Regions from separate parts of the Homo sapiens genome. Here regions 2 and 3 are each linked to region 1. Evidence: promoter capture Hi-C in 16 types of primary human blood cells and fetal thymus (Javierre and others, 2016). All regions are on one chromosome and are shown on one strand. The core of a region is centred on a gene start or on the middle of the fragment in contact, and the rest is flanking DNA. Distances in the headings are between cores, read along the strand shown. Region 1 holds the start of OR10J5 (olfactory receptor family 10 subfamily J member 5). Region 2 has its middle 32 kb from the start of CRP. Region 3 has its middle 12 kb from the start of CRP.

Region 1 (3,060 bases), core at 262-2,761:
TAATGTTTAGTTTGCTTTCAAAAATATGAAATTTATTATGATTGCAAGAAACATTAATAGAGAAGCCAAGAGGGAGGTAAGCTGGAGACTTGGGAAAAAGATTGGTGATGAAAATAGAGATTTGAGAACAATCATCATAAAAATCGCACACACAAGGGCTAAGGATGTACCAGAGAAGAGCATACGTAATTATGGTAGAGGGAGAATGAGCAGATTCATGGAAGGTAACGAAATGAGTGCTGGGAAGAGAGAAAAACAGTGTGGTTTCATGGAAACCAAGGTCAGAGAATGTTTCCATGAGGTAGGAGTTCGAAGTGTTTAAACAGAGAAAGATGAGAAAAAGGAGATAAAACAAAGTCCAGTGGCCTTAGCAATGGAGAATTCTTTGGTGACATTTGAGCAAACAATCTCATGGGCATGAACATGCCAAAGCCAACTTGCAGGGAATTATGGAGAGTGGGAAAGAAAGCCTGTTTTAATACTTCTGAAAATAAAGGGAGAACAATAAGATGGTCACTAAAGAGAACCATAGGATCAGATATATGCTCTCCATACAGTTTATACATGCTTGCTTTTTGACAAAAGGGATTAGTGTCTCTGCTTCTCAAAATTGTATGTTCACCATATTTTTAAAAATAGTTAAGCCAGTTGGGCTACAGATAGCTGCAGATTTCTCTCTCAACTCCGGAGTCTCTTCTACACCTCAAGTTGTCCCAGTCCTTTATAATGACAGTGGCAACTACACAACGTTTTCTGTCACAGCTCTCTCTTCCTGACTTCACTCAAAAGGCCTACTAGAATCAGCAAAAAAAAAAAAAAAAAAAGATTTCTTTGATGGGACTTGAGTGATCAATTTTAGTAGAGAGATAATGGCAGAATTTGTGTTGTAGTTGTTCTGTTTTGAGAGTACAATAACATATTTGGACCACATTACCTCTCCAAAATCAAGTTTCTATATTCATAATTCAACTGAAACACTGTGTAAAAGCTCCTTGGTGACCCTGTTATGAAATCCAGTGACCACGTCTCAAAGTTTTCCGTCTTCAAATATTTCAAACTGCTATATCTTTTTTTTTTTTTTTTGCAAAACTTTCATCTTTATGGTTTTCTTGACATGGGCTTCACTGGAGTCCTCCTTGTTAAGAGGGTTTAAAGAGTGGATATTATTATTGGTTGAAATATAGAGCATGGCTTTCTCCTTGCTGTCTTTTTCCCTTCCTAACATCACTATAATGTCTGTGAGGTGAGCAGGCATGCAGAAGCCCTCTCCATGCGCAGAAAGTAATTTGCTCCACAGTGACAATGTTCATATGTATAAAGCCCCAAAGAGGCACAAGTAGGCTTCTCTCTTCATGTGCAAGGACCCTGCATGAGCATCATGATCAAAAAGAAGGAAATTGGATTCAGTCTCAGTACAATTATCATTTTTCTTTGTTTTAAAGTCCAATTGCTGTTGAGAATTTACTCCTTGTTGACTCCATTTGTTGCTTTCAGACACTGATATAGCAGAATGAAGAGAAAGAACTTCACAGAAGTGTCAGAATTCATTTTCTTGGGATTTTCTAGCTTTGGAAAGCATCAGATAACCCTCTTTGTGGTTTTCCTAACTGTCTACATTTTAACTCTGGTTGCTAACATCATCATTGTGACTATCATCTGCATTGACCATCATCTCCACACTCCCATGTATTTCTTCCTAAGCATGCTGGCTAGTTCAGAGACGGTGTACACACTGGTCATTGTGCCACGAATGCTTTTGAGCCTCATTTTTCATAACCAACCTATCTCCTTGGCAGGCTGTGCTACACAAATGTTCTTTTTTGTTATCTTGGCCACTAATAATTGCTTCCTGCTTACTGCAATGGGGTATGACCGCTATGTGGCCATCTGCAGACCCCTGAGATACACTGTCATCATGAGCAAGGGACTATGTGCCCAGCTGGTGTGTGGGTCCTTTGGCATTGGTCTGACTATGGCAGTTCTCCATGTGACAGCCATGTTCAATTTGCCGTTCTGTGGCACAGTGGTAGACCACTTCTTTTGTGACATTTACCCAGTCATGAAACTTTCTTGCATTGATACCACTATCAATGAGATAATAAATTATGGTGTAAGTTCATTTGTGATTTTTGTGCCCATAGGCCTGATATTTATCTCCTATGTCCTTGTCATCTCTTCCATCCTTCAAATTGCCTCAGCTGAGGGCCGGAAGAAGACCTTTGCCACCTGTGTCTCCCACCTCACTGTGGTTATTGTCCACTGTGGCTGTGCCTCCATTGCCTACCTCAAGCCGAAGTCAGAAAGTTCAATAGAAAAAGACCTTGTTCTCTCAGTGACGTACACCATCATCACTCCCTTGCTGAACCCTGTTGTTTACAGTCTGAGAAACAAGGAGGTAAAGGATGCCCTATGCAGAGTTGTGGGCAGAAATATTTCTTAATGGATTGGATTATTTCATTAAGAGACCATTAGCCCAGTGTAGTGTGTCTACTCACAAACATGCCACAATACACAAATTCATCAAATATAATATTTGTTGAGAATACTGTCAAAGAATAGAAATGCTTGTCTGTTTAGTGTTCTAGGCATGGCAGAAAGCAGGATTTCTGCTCTGGTGAATTTTGTTACCAGATACAAGAATCACTCCAAGCTGGATTAAGACTACTTGTTTCTGTGCTTGAAGATTTCAGTTTTGAAAGCTTTTTGGCTCCCATTTTACCTGAACTCTCTGACAGTCAAATCTTTGAGCTTGTCTGGTTAGGGGATGTGGAGTAGAGACAGTGGGAACATAGGTGGCAGCGGTGTTAGGGAAATAAGCCGCAGAGACACCAACCTTTATTTCTCTCTGCTTACATAAAAAAGAAAGCTTTCATTCTCAGGAGTCAAATAATATTCCATGTGACAGTCATTTTGTAATTATATCTTAATTCTTGCGGATTGAAAAATGAACAGCTTTGAAAAAAAAGTCTCTTCTTTTATTATCCAGCTGTATTCGCTCCTCAAATAGTGTTCATTTCTATGTGTATTCCTTCCTTCTGTGCAACCAAGGCAGAAATCTCT
Region 2 (3,060 bases), core at 249-2,748, 210 kb before region 1:
CGAAGGTTGCGGTGAGCTGAGATCACGCCACTGCACCCCAGCCTGGGTGACAGAGCGAGAGTTCGTCTCAAAAAAAAAATAATTTGAAGAGACAGAGGCAAAGATGATCTTAGAAACAGCACTCCTTCAGTGGGGACTTCATGAAGAACTAGTTTATGAAAGGAGATAATGTAGATACTAGCAGGAGAGGCATTGTGTTGTCACAGAAGAATTAACACTATCCATGTGGTGGGGCCTTCAGTCCTAGTGTCCTGGGCTGGTGGGTGCTGATGAAGTATTTCCCAAACCCCAGATGTGGCACTGGGGTCCAGAGCAAGGTCCCCATGTTGCCTCCTGGGGATGCCCCTCCTATTTGTCTCAGGTCCTGGCACTATAGCAGTGCTGTCTACACGGAGGCGCTGGCTCTGTCTGCTCTCTTTCTATCCAGGAACACTTCAGGGGATCTAAGCAAGTTCTTGAGAGGAATGAGCTTCATTAAGAGGGTTTGACCAGTAGAAATAAGAAAATTATAGGATTTTTAAAACCAAAGAAGTCCTCAGAAACCTTATAATTGAAAGCTCTTGTTTTATAGAAGACAACAGAGGCTCAGAGAGGTTAAGTGACTTGCTGAGGCTTTTGCAGCAAAACAGTACCTGTGTGAGGATGATAATGCAGGTTTCTTGATTTCTAATTAAATGCTCTTTCCTACTGAATCTTTTTGTAATCAGGAGGAAGACAGGCTTTTGATGATTATAAGAGGGTTAGGGCAAATTCAAGAATTACCTGATTTATTATCTGGCAGTAGTAGCCATTTTAAAAGAAAATGGCTCTGAGATAGTTTTCAAAAATGATTGGGGTCACAAAAATGCACGTATAAATTGTAATGTCCCTGTCTACCTCTCCCAGTGCTCTTCATTTCTCTTCCTGTTTATGATCTCACCTTCTTAATAAACTGAAGAGCACAAGGAAATACCCATAAGAACCTCCCTTGCATGATGACCTTTCTTCTTCTCCTTTTATTTTGGTTCATAGACATGGGTTCTAACGAAAGCTCAGAAAGGAAGAGAATAGTAAGGCACATTTTCTTTATCTTAATCTCTGCTAACTGATTTCCTTTGTGGCCGGGGAATATGGGCCTGGGCTTATTTCCAAGGCTATGTGTAACCAAGAACTAGAAATGGAAATCTTAGCATGTGTTCAACAGTTTTCTTCTTTTATTTTTAAGTATAATCTATTTAAAAGTATAATTCAAATAAACTCAACTAGCATACGAAATTATAATATTAATGCACATTTTCACCCAGTAGTGTATTGAAGGTGACCCATATGGGCTCACAAGAATGAATTGTTATTCAGTAATTATTAGGAGCCTGTTAAATCATCTGTGGGTTGAAATTAGACATAGTGGTATAGAGCACTTACACCATGGAAATCAGTAAATGCTATAAATCAGGACCTTTTCTTTTTTTTAAATCAGTGAGCCAGCTTGCCAGCACAATACATTTGGTGTAGAGAATTTCCACTGCTCAGAAGTAATCACTGTTAATTTTCGAAGTAAACTTCTAGAAAAATGATTATTTACATACTAGTGCATATGCATGTATTATTTTAATTCATTTATAGAAAAGAATCGTTTTAGAAAGTGTCTTGAGATCTTTCCATGTCAACACATGTAGATCTAATTCACTATTTAAAATTACTGTATAGTAAGTTATTATATGTTATGCCATAATTTATTTAACCAATTTCTTAATGATGAATGTCCTTCTTTGAGTTTCTACAAAAGTAGGCCCTGAGACATGGGCTTGGGTACAGACAGTTTATTTTAATTTATTTTATTATTTATTTATTTATTTATTTTGAGATGGAGTTTCACTCTTGTTGCCCAGGCTGGAGTGCAATGGTGCGATCTTGGCTCACTGCAACCTCTGCCTCCCAGGTTCAAGCAATTCTCCTGTTTCAGCCTCCTGAGTAGCTGGGATTACAGGTGCAAGCCACCACTCCCAGCTAATTTTTGTATTTTTAGTAGAGATGGGGTTTCATCATATTGGTCAGGCTGGTCTCGAACTCCTGACCTCAGGTGATCCGCCCGCCTCCACCTCGGAAAGTGCTGAGATTACAGGCATGAGCCACTGTGCCCCGCCAGACAGTTTATTTGGCCTGAGAACCCAGGAAGCACAAGTGAGACACTGAGTAAAGTGAGACAGGGAATTTTACTTCTCTAAATCAGGGTCCAAAAAAGGTCCTCACATTTCATAGGTTTATATGTCTCCTAAATCACCTTTAATTTACTCCCCATTTGTCACTTATTTTCCTTGAAATTTATGGAGAAAACTGGGTCATTTTACTGATTGGATCTCCATGACATCATTTAACATGCTCCCATAAATTATCGTTGAATCTCAAGGTAAAATTTTTCCCAGTTCAATAAATGTAATAAAATAATGATATTGATTGTTAAGCTCCATTTATTTTTATTCACACTATTTTTATAATAGATTTTATGTTTTAGAACAGTTTTAGATTTACACAAAAATTGAGAACTTAGTACAGAGATTTCCCACATACCCCCTCAGCCCCTCCTTCTGACAATTTCACCTCTCCTGAACATTTTACTTTAGTATGGTACATTTGTTACAGTGAGTGAATCAAAACTGATACAATGTTATGAATTAAAGTCTGTAGTTTATTAAGATTTCCTTAGTTTTTACTTAGTATCCCTTTTCTGTTCCAGAATGACATTCAGCATACCACATTACATGTAGTTGTCAAGTTTCCTTAAGTCTCTCTTGGCTGTGACTGTTTCTCAGGCTTTCCCGAGAAAGCCTGTCACCCAGGCTGGAGTGCAGTGGCACAATCTCAGCTCACTGCAACTTCTGCCTCCCGGATTCAAGCGATTCTTTTGCTTCAGCCTCCCAAAGAGCTGGGACTATAGGCGCACGCCACCATGCCCAGCTAATTTTTAGTAGAGATGGGGTTTCATCATATTGGCCAGGCTGGTCTCAAACTCCTGACCTCGAGATCTGTGCGCCTCGGCCTCCCAAAGTGTTGGGATTACAGGCGTGAGCCACGGCGCCCAAC
Region 3 (3,060 bases), core at 314-2,813, 170 kb before region 1:
GGGGCCTGGTGGGAGATGTTTGGATAATGGGGGCAGATCCCCCATGAGTGATTTAGTGCCATCCCCTAAGTGATGAGTGAGTTCGCTCAGTTTGGTCATATAAGATCTGGTTGTTTAAAAGACCCTGTGATCTCTCTCTTCCCTCTCTGGTCCCTGCTCTCGCCATGTGACACACTGACACCCCTTCGCCTTCCACCATGATTGTAAGCTTTCTGAGGCCCTTGTTAGAAGCAGATGCCAGCACTATGCTTCCTGTACAGCCTGAAGACTGAAGCCAATTAAGCCCCTTGTCTTTATAAATTACCCAGCCTCAGGTATTCCTTTATGGCAATGCAAAACAGACTAACACACTCCCCACCTCCACCAATTTCTGATTGTCACAGACTCTCCCAGGTGCACTTTTTCGTATTTGTGTCTTTACGTCTCTCTTAAAAGGATGACTCAGAATGCTGGGGAAGACACAGTTAACAATACCAGCAGCATCAGACAAGATCAGGTCTTGAGTTCTTTTGGAGAGGGCGATAGTCTGGGAAGCTTTCCTTTCCTCTGTCTGGCTTCTCTCCTTGAGACTAGTGGCATGTCCCATGTCTGATATCCATTGGTTTCCACCAAAGAGGTCCAAGGTCACCTACGCATGACATCTATCTCTGGGGCTCTGGGACTTTTCCCTCTTCACTAGGTATGAAGCAAGTGGAGATTCTCATTGCAGTTCTGTCCTGAAGCGTAGATCTTCAGGGGAAAATGTTTTAGGAAGGCCATGTTCACTTGAGATCTGAGCTGGGTCCTTCAAATCAAGCATTGCTAGCCACAAGGCTGATGTGATTTTTATTCAAGTATTTATTTCTCAGTTTATTCTAAACAGGCAAAGAGGTGATATTGTTTCCTCAAAACTCTAAGAGTACCATGAAGAGAGAGGGAAGCTCCTCTATGGAGAGATTCTCACCTGCAAACAGCCAGGGTGGAGCCTGGGCAGGACTTCAGACTTGTAAGAGGAATAACAGTGTAGCGGGCAGTCTCTCACAGATAGCACAAAGAGTCTTTCCTCATCAGGGATGGGTTTACTTTTAGAATCAGGGCAGACTTGTCCTGGAGCTCCAACTCTAAAAGCTGTGAAGTTCTGCAGGAGCTGGGGCAGGCTCATTTCAAAACAAACTGAGTCCTGATACATGGAATCTTTGGCCTTTGTATTGTTGATGCCTGGGTCTGAAAGTCAGAAATAGATCCTGTTCCTCTCTATGCTTTACTCATGTTTGGGGTCAAAGAGGGACTTTGAAGGCATAATCTGTACATTTATATGCCTCATTTACAGTTTCTTAAAGCCTACCTTTCCTCTCCACCCCTGTTACTCAACCGAACTTGGGTCTGCCCATTTGGTGCAGCAAAGCCAAATGCTGACAACAGGATTTGCAGTGAGAGAAAGTGAAGTCTTTATTGCAAGATGCCAAACAAGGAGAATCTGAGACCCAAACATCCTGATGACTTACATGGAAGGGTTTTTAAAGGCAGGGAGGCAGAGATTACAGGCAAAGTCATAAATCAACACATGGAGGCCATACAGTGGTTTGGCCTATAAAGGGGGGCATCTCAAGTTGGGAGGGCCAAAGATCATAGGTGGATTCAAAAATTTTCTGATATGTGATTGGTTAAGATTTGTCTAAAAACTTGGGATCAGCAGAAATATTGAGCTCTGGCCTATGGGCATGACCTTCTTCAGGCCTCTCAGGAAGAAATTTAGAACAAAGAACAGCAGTCAGTGTTCAGTCCTCAGTTCCCCACTATCTGAGGTCATCTGAGGAAGATAGCATTTTCCATCCACTGGCACAGAGATCTCAGATAATGGCATTAGGTCAGGGGTCGGGTTTCTGAAAAACAACTCAGGAACATATATTAGGATGTTATTTTTAGTTTCTGTAGGGGAACCAAACATCCTATGATTCTAATTTCCTTGGCTATTGCTTTAAGCTACTATTACCTTCTTGCTTATCAGGTGGCTTATTTATTCTCCGGGCTAGCTAGGTACCTGGAATTTCCCTTGAAGGAGCTCAAGATTTTCCTTTATTTCCGTGCATGGGTGAGGGATGTGGGCTGGCAGGCTTCTAAGTGGGGTCCCTGCTCCATCTCACCCTCAAGGGTTAAGATAGCCAGACTAACTGAGTTCAGGTCCTGGTTTCATCTTATAATGGCTGGGTGACCTTAGGTAAATGACTTAAATGCTGTATTCTTCAGGTTTCCTCGTCTTTTAAATGGGGGATAGTATAGGGCCCATTTCACTGCACAAGCTAGTGCTTAATGCATGTTATCTATGCTTTATGACTAATATTATTGCTGGTGATCATGATTTCAATTACCCAGGCTCTGGGTCAGAGCCTCAGTATGGTGAAGGGATCCATCAATGGGTAGATAATGAAGAAGGGACACCTGATTGTATGGGGAGAATGCGTCAGCTTGGACTGAAAAAAAATCGTAGAAATTATCACAAAGTTAAAGCATAAGGGGAGAATTTGAAAGGCCTATATCTAGAATGTTGTGGCTACAGGAAATAGGTTGATTCAGACACTGACAGAAGAGTCAGTGAGAGGGTAAAGAAGCTTCAGAATTTGGCATGTACTCAGAAAACTCTCATTCAGATTTTTAGGAGGACATCAGAAACGCATGGAGGATCAAAATCCACTTAAAAGGCCTTATTCTACCTCAAAAGAACAGGAAATGGAAAAGGAAAGGAAGATACTGTGATCTGACCACATCGGCCCTACAGGGGGTAAGAGGAGCAGGATCTGGCCGGGTGTGGTGGCTCATGCCTGTAATCCCAGCACTTTGGGAGGCCAAAGCAGGCAGATCACTTGAGGCCAGGAGTTCGAGACCAGCCTGGGCAACATGGCGAAACCCCATCTCTACCAAAAAAATAAAAAAAAATTAGCCAGGCATGGTGATGCACACCTGTAATCCCAGCTCCTCAGGAGGCTGAGGCATGAGAATCGCTTGAATCTAGGAGGTGGAGTTTGCAGGGAGCCGAGTTTGCGCCACTGCACTGCAGTCTGGGTGACAGAGTGAGACTCGATC

What was found. The method cuts DNA at HindIII sites, captures the fragments that hold promoters and counts their contacts. A CHiCAGO score of 5 or more calls a contact.
Region 2: a fragment that was not itself captured here is called in contact with the fragment with the promoter of OR10J5 in region 1 in 1 of 17 cell types (neutrophils); the score reaches 5.6 in neutrophils.
Region 3: a contact is called between a fragment that was not itself captured here and the fragment with the promoter of OR10J5 in region 1, in 1 of 17 cell types (neutrophils). The highest score is 5.8, in neutrophils.

The regions. Positions count from the first base shown.
Region 1 is chr1:159,534,458-159,537,517 of GRCh38, reverse strand. OR10J5 (olfactory receptor family 10 subfamily J member 5) reads left to right here and starts at 1,511. Exons shown (of 1, transcript NM_001004469.1): 1 at 1,511-2,440. The coding sequence starts at 1,511. The coding sequence ends at 2,440. The HindIII fragment of the contact is 5,281 bases long and covers 1-2,701 here.
Region 2 is chr1:159,744,872-159,747,931 of GRCh38, reverse strand. No RefSeq gene overlaps it. Among named protein-coding and RNA genes, the nearest start is that of CRP, 32 kb to the right of the region's middle. The HindIII fragment of the contact is 6,050 bases long and covers 1-3,060 here.
Region 3 is chr1:159,700,652-159,703,711 of GRCh38, reverse strand. No RefSeq gene overlaps it. Among named protein-coding and RNA genes, the nearest start is that of CRP, 12 kb to the left of the region's middle. The HindIII fragment of the contact is 2,054 bases long and covers 537-2,590 here.